Regions from separate parts of the Homo sapiens genome. Here regions 1, 2 and 4 are each linked to region 3. The links are contacts of gene promoters, found by promoter capture Hi-C in blood cells and fetal thymus (Javierre and others, 2016). All regions are on one chromosome and are shown on one strand. Each heading gives the region's core, a stretch centred on a gene start or on the middle of the fragment in contact. The rest is flanking DNA. Distances are from core to core; before and after follow the strand shown.

Region 1 (2,955 bases), core at 229-2,728, 200 kb before region 3:
GATTATTTGTATAAAGTGCATCAAGAATAATTATTCACCATACAGGCCTTTTTAAAATTGGCTTTGATGGAACTTTGTTCTACAAGGAATCTCAGATTAGACCTCTCAAAGCCTTGAGCCCAGCCATGGGTTTGTACTTGCAAATAACTGCCTGAGGGGTAAATTCCTCACCTCTTGAGGTCCCAAGATAACTTGCAGCTCCTGGGCCTGTCAGAAAGTGACATTCTTTATTCTTCATCTACCGCAGGTCAGGAACCTTGGACAGAGACTGTGTAGACAAGGAATGAGGCTAGCTTTCCCTAGGGGCTTTCATTGGCTCTATAAGTCAACTTTGATTCCTTAAAGCAGTCTGTTTATATTTAAAAGAATACCATTCCAGCCAAGGCCCTGGTAAAATAACCAGTTTCTCCAATTGTGTCCTGTTACAAAGAAAACAGATTATTATTGCACTTACGTAAATAACTATATTGCCATAAGTTAAGAATACTCATGAATAGTTTTCAAATTCTGGAGAAATCAGGTAGAAGGAGATATGCTCCAAATTTTGCTCATAGGCATATACTCCACTCAATTGCCAAAAGCTGTAAATAGCAACCCCCAAAAAGTTTTCTTGACTCTGAAAAACAAAACAGAAAGGATCAACAGTATTTCAAGCAGGAAGTCATGAAAAAACTATTTCAATCTTTTACTAGTTCAGTCTATGCAATTAATTCCTCTTCTGTTTGACATTCATGAACACAGTAGTTTTCCAAGAGAGTCTTGGAAGTTATTTCTTCTCTATTTTCATGGCACACTTTCCAAAGTCATCAGAGATCTACATTCAAAGGCACTTGTCAGAGTCCTATAACTGATTATACACCACCATTTTTTTTTTTTTTTTTTGAGACAGAGTCTTGCTCTCTCACCCCGGCTGGAGTGCAGTGGCATGATCTTGACTCACTGCAAGCTCCACCTCCTGAGTCCATGCCATGCTCCTGCCTCAGCCTCCCAAGTAGCTGGACTACAGGCACCCACCACCATGCCTGGCTAATTTTTTTGTATTTTTAGTAGAGACAGGGTTTCACCATGTTAGCCAGGAAGGTCTCAATCTCCTGACCTTGTGATCAGCCCACCTCAGCCTTCCAAAGTGCTGGGATTATAAGTGTGAGCCACCATGCCCGGCCTACACCTCCTTTTAAAGAGGATCAAAACAAGACAAATATTGTCTGTGGATGACAAAAAGACTTAGGACAGCCATACTCAAAGACACAATTGACAAGGAAATTTGGTTACCTCTGTGGCACACAATAATCAACAAAACAATCATAATTATTCCTGACAATATATACTAAGTCATATCAGAATTATAGGAGCTTCCCATAATTTTGGAACACATACCAATAACACATCTATACAAATACAGCCCAAAGAAAGCCAAACACCATTTCATACCCAACAATGCTTCCTGTATGATTTTAATATACCAAATAAGTCAAATATATGTCATCTTTGGACTTTAGGCAACCCAATATCTAAAAGATCAATTAGATCAGAAAAAGACATAATTTATAATTTGATTTTGGGAAGTTTGTCAAATATCAAAGGTTCAAAACGCTTGATATTATAAAATAGAATCCCAGGTCACTGTAAGTCATTTATTTTGCTAAAATGATAATTTAAAGATTTTAAAAAGGCAAAAACATTTACTCATTGATAGAAGGAAGACTGAGCTTTCCAAACAATCTGTCTTTTTGCTTTCCACTCTTTTTCATGTAGTTTATTCAAAGAGGAAACAAAAATCTTTCATTATTTTCCTCATATTACAAAGAATCTTATTCAACAGAGAAAGCCAAAATTCACCTTTGCATTAGTGTACTATTGATGTCAAACCTAGTTCTTAATAAAATCTTATAGAAAAATCTATCTAATTTTTTTAAATTACTTTAAAAATGTATTTCAAAAGTTTTTGGGAACTGGTGGTGTTTGGTTGCATGGAAAAATTTTTTAGTGGTGATTTCTGAGATTCTGGTGCACTTGTCACCTGAGAAGTGTACACTGTACCCAATGTGTGTAGCCTTTTATCCCTCCCCCACTCCCACCCTTACCCTTGAGTCCCCAAAGTCCATTATATCATTCTTATGCCTTTGTGTCCTCATAGCTTAGCTCTCACTTATAAGTAAGAACATATGATGTTTGGTTTTCTATTCCTGAGTTCACTTAGAATAATCATCTCCAACTCTATCCAGGTTACTGAAAATAGCATTATTTCACTTCTTTTTATGGCTGAGTAGTATTCCATTCCATATATATTATATATATGGAATATATATATATATATACACCATATGTATGGAATATATAGATACACCATATATATAAAATAATATATATACCATTATATGTATAATGGTGTGTGTGTGTGTGTGTATATATATATACACACACCATATATATATAATGTGGTATATGGCTGATTAGTATTCATATATATACCACTCGTTTCTTTATCCTCTTGTTGGTTGATGGACGTTTAGGCTGGTTCCATACTTTTGCAATTGTGAATTGTGCTGCTATAAACATGCATGTACAAGTGTCTTTTTCATATAATGACTTCTTTTACTCTCAGTAGATACCCAGTTGTGGGGTTGCTGGGTCAAATGGTAGTTCTACTTTTAGTTCTTTAAGGAATTTCCATACTGTTTTCCATAGTGGTTGTACTAGATTACATTCCCACCAGCAGTGTATAAGTGTTCCCTTTTCACCACATCCATGCTAACATCTGTTATTTTTTTTATTTTTAAATTATGGCCATTCTTGCCAGGGTAAGGTGGTATCTCACTGTTGTTTTGATTTACATTTTCCTGATAATTAGTGATATTGAGCATTTTTTCTTTTTCTTTTTTTTTTAGACAGAGTCTCATTCTTTCTCCCAGGCTGGAGTGCAGTGGTGCAACCTCCACTCACTGCAACCTCTGC
Region 2 (2,931 bases), core at 236-2,735, 250 kb before region 3:
AGTGTTTTGTTGAAACTAACGCACTTCACCTTCACATACCACAAACTATATGATGATATGGTTTATTTCTTTCCCAGCAAATTCTGGTCAAAAGGGCAGCGTATCAAGTTACCTTAGTCTGGAGCATCCATTTTAGAATGTGATCTCCCTGGGTCACTTAGTGCTGTAATCTGTTCTTTAACAGAAAAGTATCTGCCCAGTTTACCATTAATTAGCATATTTTAAGAGTTTTATGAGATGAACATTTCAGGCGTGAAATATCACTTCGCCTCTGAGCAGCTGGGTCGGAAGTGTGTGCCACCTCTCATTTCTGCCCAGTGACTGGGTGTGTTCATGGTTTCAGGCTGATGGTCCCGTCCACTCCAGCACAATGCTTAGCCCAGGAAGAGTAGGCCATGGGGCTCAGTGCAGGGTCCAAAGTGCATAGTGAAGACCGACTGCTCATCACCATCCCCTAGGGTTCTGTCCCAAGTGTTGAAGTACTGTCATTAAAGATTCATCCTCAGGTTGAAAGCTTAAGCCCTGCGAAAAGCCAAGTGCCCCAGGGAACCCCTCATATTAAATCATGGACTGTGAACCCCTTGGTTTGAGTGCACTAACGAGCTCCTTCCCAAAGCACATCCTCTAAGAAGGAGCCCTGGAAAGAATGGAGCTGGGCCAAGGCAGGAGGGTTTTCCAGAGAAGAGTGGAGAAGGGCAGATGAGCAGGGCGGTGCAGGGGTGCAGCAGGATAGGACAGGGGCTTCCAGGTGGAGAGTTTGTGGTCCTGAAATGCAAGAGACTAAGGGAAAGGACCTTTGTTGAGCTCTTATTCCATGCCAGCGACTACACAAAATGGTTTCTATGTATTTTTATCTGCTTTGGTTTCCTCTGTCCCCTGGGAAGTTAAGTACATGTTTCCTTTGCAGGTGAAGACTGCACCAGTCAAGGTGGTTAAGTGACTTCCTGTATGGCAGATGCAACTGACAGCAGTAACTTAAGCACACCCTGAGAATGACCCTGTGGTCTAAGAAGAATGTGTGTCTGGGAGTGGCCAACCCAGAGACTCACTCCTTATCTATGAGGGACATCCGAACCCCTGGTCCATTCCTTGGAACACAGGTGTACAGGGGATTGAAGCCTTTGTTTTGGTTTAAACAGAGGTTGATAGATGGAGGGTGGGAAGTGAAAATTGCCATATAAACTGCATGCTTTTTCAAACAATAGCAGTTCTCATGTCTAGCCCCCCGTTCCTGGACTGCCCCGTATGTGGGTCCTCAATCAACAGTCTGGTCTACTAGCTCTGGATCTCTTCTTCAGCCTCTCGGACAGGGCACCATCCCTATTGGAATCAACAGGGGTCCAGCACAACACTTCCCCAGAATCATACAGCTGGGGTGTAATGGAGCCATGATCTGAACCCAAGTCTACTTCTAAAACACTTACTGTCCCACCAACTAAATTGGCCTGGGCCTCTAAGTCAACTCTAATAGAGTTGGGATGAGTTGCTTCTCACTAGACCTATTGCTTCTTTCTAGAACTTCTGTCCCTGAAGGGGCAGAAGGGAAGCATTACCAGGCACCTGGAATTGTGTTGGCCACTATCTTAGTCTGTTCCTGCTGCTATAACAAAATGCCTGAGGCTGGGTCATTTATAAAGAACAGAAACTTACATCTCACAGTTCTGGAGGCTGGAAGTCCAATGTTAAGGCACCAGCTGGTTCAGTATCTGGTGAGGGCTGTTCTCTGCTTCAGGTGGTAAACCTACCACCACGTTGAGGATTAGGTTCCAACACCTGCATTTTGGAGGGAGGGACACAGTCATTCACACCATAGCACCACCTTCACATATCCCATACAATCCTCACATCAACCCAGCAAAGCAAGGACTATTATCCTTATGTTTACTTATTGTATCCATTTTTTTATGCTGCATAACAAATTACCGTAAACTCAATGGCTTAAAACAACACACATTTATTATGTTTCTGTGGGGCAGGTGTCTGGGCACAGCCTAGCTGGGTCCTCAGCAAAACTGCAATCAGGGTCCTGACCAGGGCTGCGTTCTCATCTCGAGACTCCCATGGGTAAGGGTCTCCATCCAAACTCACCAAGGCTGTGGAAAGATGTAGACCTCAGGGTAGCTGGCTTCTTCAAATCTTTCAAACAGACCAAGTCTTATATAACTACATAATCCTGAGAGTCACACTGCATCACGTTGGTCATATTCTGTTGGTTAGGAGCAAGTCACAGGGGTCATGGGGCCACCTTAAAGTCTATGCAATACACATACGCACATGTGCAGAAACTTAACCTCAGCTAGATGCTCATTTCTTTCAGTGCAGTTAGATGTCATGACGGGATGGAGATGGCGTGATGCTGAGGAAACTTTGACTGTGGTGTTCCTTATGTGCATGTCCTTTTCCAAGGCCTGGGGAGGGGCCCGTGGGTGGACCTAAGTTTTGTCCCTGAAGCTTGTGCATATATGCAAAATAACAAACATAAAAACTGCTAGGGCCCCTCCCAGGGCTTACAGGTGACAGGCCTTACAGCTTAGGTTTCTTGGTAAATCTGCCCCCTGTGGACGTGTCATCACTATTATTCGAATTTCTCTGGGGTATCATTTAGTCTATTACAGGATCTGGAAAATAGCAATCATTCAAAAGACTGCACATCCCTAAGTCAGCAGCGGCACTCTCTCAGTGCGACCTCTTCTCCCGCAGTTTGCTTCCCGCACCTCCCCCCTCCTCTGCCACGCTGGCTCTTGGTGCCACCTGGTTGGGAGTGGTGCCGCGGCCTCTGTTTCTCCCACTCCCTCAGCCCTCACCTTTCTGTTTTCTTCTCAAACCAGCTAGGTGTTCACAGAACCAACTCCCAAGCTCATTTTTTCTTAGTGTTGTACCCATCTGGCAAAAACCCCATCCCAGATGAGACAAGAAGTATCATATATGTGT
Region 3 (2,942 bases), core at 202-2,701:
CCTCCTCTGCCCCAACAGGTCAACAAAAGTAAAAGTATCAGCGAAGAGACGCAAGAGTTCTAGACGCGAGAAAAGAGAAGTGGGTTGCGAACTGGCGGGGTCCCACAGGTCTTGCTTCTCCTTCCAGAAGTTTGGGCTTAAGTTGCCAATGCCTGACAATGCGGGGGTAGGACCGTGGAGAGCAGGAGGGAGAAGGCGCTGGACAGGCCCGGGAAGGAGGGGTTGGCGGGTCCCCGCCGCAGCCAGGCCCTCCGGGGGCGCCCCGGGACACCTGCGGCCGAGGCGCGGCTCACCTTGAGATAGTCGTTCTCCGAGCGCAGCTCCTCCATCTCCCGCAGCAGCTCTTCTTCCTCCGCCGCTGGCACGAGCCGAGACTGCTCGCCCAGGCTGGGCTCCTTGGGGGTCCCGGGGACTGGTCGCTCCGGTGGCGAGCGCCCCCGGACATCCTCCGCCACGCCGGGCCCCGCGAAACCCCCCGAAACCCCGCTCGGGATGCTCCGGCCCCCGGGACAGGCGCCCGCGGCGAGGGGCGCGGCGAGGAGCGCTGGGGGCTCGGGGCTGCCCGGCGGCGCTCCTCGGGCTGCGGGGCTCGGCGTCGGCGCTCCTCGTGGGGGTTCACGGTCGCTGGAGCCCGTGCCGGATTCGGCGTCGCTGCTGGCGGCAGGGAGCAGGCGCTGCTCGTCGGACAGGGGTTCGGAGGGGCAGTCAGAGAGGTCGGAGCTGCTGTCCGTGTGGCTGATGCGCGAGCAGCGGGCCGGGGACCCGGCCACCGAGGTCACCGCGAGGGTCACGGCAGGGATCCGGGCGGCCGGGGTCGGGGGGCCGACGGTGCGGGCGGGTGGCGCCCGGGAGCCGCGCTTGGCTTTGCGGCCCTTGGCAGCGGCAGACGGCGGCTCGGCTCCGGGAGGCTTCCCAGCCCGGGACAGCGGCTCCGCGGGCGCCACGCGCGCCGCCCTCCTGCTTCCCAGGGCAGCCTTGGCACCGCCCGCCGCTCTGGCCCCGGCGCCCGGCGGGGGCTTGTCCTTCGCGCCCGGGACGCCGCCACTGCGCCGAGAGAGGCGGCCGGGCGCGGCCAGGGACCCCGGCGAGGGCGGCGCTTTGCCCGCGAGGTTGGGCGAGCGCGGGGCGGCGGGAGCCGGGGCTCGGCCCGAGGAGGGGACGGCCGGGCCGGGCGCGGCGGGCCGGGCGTGCAGGTCCTTGAGGAAGGGTCTGGCGGGCGAGGGCGCACGGTGCAGCCGCCGCCTTTCGGCCACCGGGTGGAGGTGGTGGTGGCGGTGGTGCTGGCCGGGCGGCTGCAGCTTCGCGTCCGGGGCACCTCCGCCCGCGGGGCCGTTCAGTGTCTCCATGGCCGGGTCCGCCGGCAGCAGCTCAGGCAGCAGATGCTCCGGACGACGACGGCGGCGGCGGCGGCGGCGGCGGCGTGCAGCCTCCCCGCGCGCTCTCTCATCACTGTCCCAGCCCCGCCCGGGCTGCGCCCCGCGCTCCCGCCGTCCCCGCCCCCCGCACCCCGGCCCCGAGGATTCCCGCGGGGCTCGCCGCCGCCGCGCTCGCCCCTCGCTGAGGTCACCGCGGATCGAGTTCTCCCGGCTCAGCAGCGCGGCGGCTCCCGGCCGCTCGCATCCCCGGACCTCGCGCTCCGGGCTCGCGGTCACCGGTGCCGCGGCGGCGCTGGCGGCGCGCGCCCGGCTCCCGCGTCCCGCTCCCCGCCCACCGCCGGCCCGCTGCTGCCCGTGCCCGCCCCCGCCGCTCCCGGCTGAGAGAAGCCGCACGCGCGCGCCCCACCTCCCCGCCGCCCAGCGCCCTCGCCCAGGCCCGTGCGCATGCCCCGCCTCCAGCCAGCCGGCGCCGTGCAGGGGAGGGGCGAGGGAAGGGGCGGGGGCTTGCGCTCCCCGGGGGGCGGGCGCCCGGCAGGGGCGGGACCTGCGCGCCCTTGGGAGCAGGCGCAGGCTGGATCCATGGGGCCTCGCTGCCCGGGGACCCTCCTTGCTTTTTGAGGCCCTAGAGACGCTGCCAGGAGCTAGGGAGGAAGGGAAGAGGCGGAGGTGAAGTGGTGGCAAGGGGCGGCGCCGGCCACTTGGGGAAGGCGTGTGCCGCGGCTGACAACACCCCTCTCATGCCTCTCCATCCACCGCCCGCCTCCCCGAGGCCAGTCACCTCCCTCGCTGTCCTCTCCAAGCTGTGCCCCTGGTCCCCGAGCTCCTTTAAGGATCGCTGGTACCCGACGCAGCTCTCGCGTCTAAACGGCACGGCGGGCGCTCCACAGTTGGCACCCCCGTGGCCTCGGGAGCTCAGGAGGAGCTGCTGCCCAAACAGGAGGAGCCCTCGCCAAACCTGGGGGTCAGAAAGGGAACTCACATTTATAGTTCCGGCTGCGAGCCAGGCCTGCTGGCCACTTACTGAGCAGTGTTTTATTTAAGCCTCACCACAGTCCCAGATTGGAATTGCTGTCTTCGGTGAAGACTAGGGCACCGGCGCTGGGAGGTGAAGTCACTTGCCTGCGATGCCTCACCCAGTCCCTAGCTGAGCGGGTTTAAACCCAGGTCTTCAGGATTCCGAGTCCTGCAGGCTTTCCGCTCAGAGCCCGGAGCCCGGCCACCGGTTCTACCACTTGAGTCTCCCATGCGCAAGGCACTAGACCTTTCTGAGCCCCAGTTCCCTCGCCTGTATCATTAAAACGTACTGCCACCTGAGCATGTGTGAAGATTTAGCAAATACCAGAACACACCGTGCAAACTGTAAAGTACAGTTCACATACCATTGGGTGCAGTTTATGTCCCAGGCGTTGGATGTTGGCCAGTGCCCATAGGAATAGGGGCCAGCCTGTCCTCCAGCCCTGGCGTTGCAGGAGGCAGAGGGTCAGGTAATAATTACAAGGAGGAGGGCGGGAGCATAACCCTGCCTGGTGAGGCTCGCATTTTCCTGGAAGGACGGGTTGGTCTCTC
Region 4 (2,792 bases), core at 154-2,653, 230 kb before region 3:
ATAGCTGAAGTGTTTCCATTTGATTTAGTTCTAGGAAGTCAGCATGAATCAGCCTTGTGTTCCTTGCCTCCAGACCCTATTCTCCTGCCTCACAATGATTGCATCCCCAACCAATCTGCAGCACCCATTCCCTACTCCAATGCTACCAAACTATCCTTGAAAAACTCTAGCTTCTGAATCTGTGGGGAGACTGACTTGAGTTCTCCCATGTGGCTGGCCTCAAGTTAAACTCTTTCTTTGCTGCAATACCATGGACTCAGTGAACTGGCTTTGTCTGTGCAGTAGCAGGAAGAACCTGTTGGGTGACTACATCTTTTTTGTTTGTACTGGTCTTCCACACCAAAGAGAAGTCCCAGTATCCTGGTCTGGTCCATGTCCTGCAAATTCTGATGCCTTGGGTGTTTTAAGGATTTCAAAGGCTTATTTCTTAGCTCAAGAGACTGATGAGATCTATAACCTATTTGTAGTGTTTCTGTCTTTGGTTTCCTTACTTTGTAACAAAGAAATTTCTTTTCTCCAACCTTAGCTACTCAAAGTGTGTCCATCAACTGGTAGTATTGGCTGGCCTGACCTGGGAGCTTGTTACAAACACCAAGACTCAAACTTCATCCTAGACATGAAGATCCCAGGTGATCATATGCACATTGAAGCTTCAGAAAGTCTACTCTGAACAACCAGATGAGGCCAGGGATCGTGGCTCACGCCTGTAATTACAGCACTTTGGGAGGCCAGGGCGGGCAGACCACCCAAGGTCAGGAGTTTGAGACCATCCTGGCCAGCATGGTGAAACCCCATTGCCACAAAAAAACACAAAAGTTATCTGGGCATGGTGGCAGATGCCTGTAATCCCAGCTACTTGGGAGGCTGAGCAGGAGAATCGCTTTAATATGGGAGCTGGAGGTTGCAGTGAGCCAAGATCGTGCCACTGCACTCCAGCCTGGGCAAAAGAATGAGACTCTACTAAGAAAATAAAAATAAAAATAATACTCTGATGTTGAAACTTTTCTTTGAGTTAGTTCTTCATTCTCAAGTGACTTTAAACTGACCTTGATGGAGCAAACATTTAATTCTGACAAGCCTCAGTGTTTTGCCCTGATGTAGTTCGCAGAACACCATTCTGTATGATTCCGGTTCCATGGGATCTATTTTACAGTTCTGTAAATCACTGTAAATCACCCACCCACTCCGCAGTGTAGGATGCAAATCATGTCCCGTCTGCTGGAGGTTCAATTAACTTCCCTCCCACTGTGGGAAAATCAGTTTGCCTCAATTGGCATATCAATTTTCATACAACTGATCCATAAATTTGCTCTTTGGAGTTTCTTTTAAACGGGCTATAGTATTTGTCTGCTTCCCTCATGAGTAAAAGAAAATCTTTATCACGGGTTCATTTTTATATCTGTATGAGAGTCATGAATTTGCCTTTTTTGAAAATTACCATTTAACAGTGATGACTACCTTTCTTCTCTTAGGTTATAGAGCGGTGCCTCTACCTCAACACCACTGATGTTTTGAGACAGATAATTCTTTATGGTGAGGGCTATCCTCTGCATTGCAGGATGTTAGCAGCTTCCCTGGCCTCTACCCACTAGATGCTCCTAGCACTGCCTCCCACCAAATTATTCAGATATTGTTAAATATCCCCTCAAGGGCAAAATTACCCACCCACTCCCCAGGTTAGAACCACTGGTTTATAGTTAATAAACAAGACAACACGTGACACCACTATTGAACTAACAGACAAAATGCAGTTACAGAAATAGCACATTATTTTTTGATATTGAAGGAAATAAAAATATTGTACCCTAAAATACATTTGTTTGACGTATGTTGAGATGGCTGCCAGAGAGCCAGCCTGCAGAAGTAGCCCTGCAAAGCTGTCTTTTGTGGGGAAAATTTGCATCTACAGAGAATCTGCATAGAGGAAGCCAGGCTCTCCCTTGTCAGAATTCAGGAAAGACAAACTTAGAATTTGTCACTTTTAAAGGTCTAAAGAAACATTTAGCATCTATTCTTTCTGAGGGTTTCTACCTATGAGGTTTTATTTACATAACAAGACTCTCTTTGCTAGCCAACTCTCATTCCCCTCCCTCCCATAACTGGATTCATCACCGTAGCCTTATTTTGACCATGCTCTGAGCTCACATAGAAGCTTCTGCACCCCATTGGTGGGTTGGGTAATCACTCAGTGATGCTCCCCATATACACGTTGTTACATTTTGTATGCCTTTCCTCCAATTCATCTGACTTTTGTAAGTTGATTTTTCAGTGAATCTTCAGAAGTTTTCCTTCTGCCCCTATAATATTTTCCTAAAAATAGAGGAATGAGCAAATCTTCTGGGAATATCATGTTTCAGACATTATGAAAGGTCATGAGCAGGGGTAAAAACAAATAATACTGAAATCCAAAACACAAGCCAAGTGATGCCACCTTTTGGCAGAAGTCCTTGGCATAAGGGCAGTTTGGGAGATTGTAGCACCCTCAGGTCCTGAGGAACTGGCTGGGGGAGGCCATTGGTTGCCACATGAAGGTAAGTGTTTGCTTTGGGCTTAAATGGAATGAAAGAGGCTGTATGCCTGAGGTTGGTCCTGTGGGTGATATACCTGAGCTTCCCTGTCTCCAGCCGTTCCTACCCCAGGAGACCCCCCAGGACAATAGGTTGATTTAACGTACATTCATTCATTCATTCACTCATTTGCTCACTCATTCATCAACTGACACTTCACCAGGGACCAGGAGCTGTGTGTCTGAGTGAGGGGAAAAGTGAAATCACCTTTGCGAATATTATGAC

What was found. The method cuts DNA at HindIII sites, captures the fragments that hold promoters and counts their contacts. A CHiCAGO score of 5 or more calls a contact.
Region 1: a contact is called between a fragment that was not itself captured here and the fragment with the promoter of MTCL1 in region 3, in 2 of 17 cell types (total B cells and naive B cells). The highest score is 6.8, in total B cells.
Region 2: a contact is called between a fragment that was not itself captured here and the fragment with the promoter of MTCL1 in region 3, in 4 of 17 cell types (total B cells, naive B cells, megakaryocytes and 1 more). The highest score is 8.8, in total B cells.
Region 4: a fragment that was not itself captured here is called in contact with the fragment with the promoter of MTCL1 in region 3 in 1 of 17 cell types (total B cells); the score reaches 6.7 in total B cells.

Annotation. Positions count from the first base shown.
Region 1 is chr18:8,906,579-8,909,533 of GRCh38, reverse strand. No RefSeq gene overlaps it. Among named protein-coding and RNA genes, the nearest start is that of NDUFV2, 190 kb to the left of the region's middle. The HindIII fragment of the contact is 3,839 bases long and covers 1-2,955 here.
Region 2 is chr18:8,949,747-8,952,677 of GRCh38, reverse strand. No RefSeq gene overlaps it. Among named protein-coding and RNA genes, the nearest start is that of NDUFV2, 150 kb to the left of the region's middle. The HindIII fragment of the contact is 1,937 bases long and covers 517-2,453 here.
Region 3 is chr18:8,704,065-8,707,006 of GRCh38, reverse strand. MTCL1 (microtubule crosslinking factor 1) reads right to left here and starts at 1,451. Exons shown (of 15, transcript NM_001395333.1): 1 at 294-1,451. The coding sequence starts at 1,346. The region is part of intron 1 of GACAT2 (gastric cancer associated transcript 2); the gene reads left to right. RefSeq lists silencers at 1,227-1,286, 1,667-2,106. The HindIII fragment of the contact is 5,801 bases long and covers 1-2,942 here.
Region 4 is chr18:8,930,556-8,933,347 of GRCh38, reverse strand. No RefSeq gene overlaps it. Among named protein-coding and RNA genes, the nearest start is that of NDUFV2, 170 kb to the left of the region's middle. The HindIII fragment of the contact is 1,502 bases long and covers 653-2,154 here.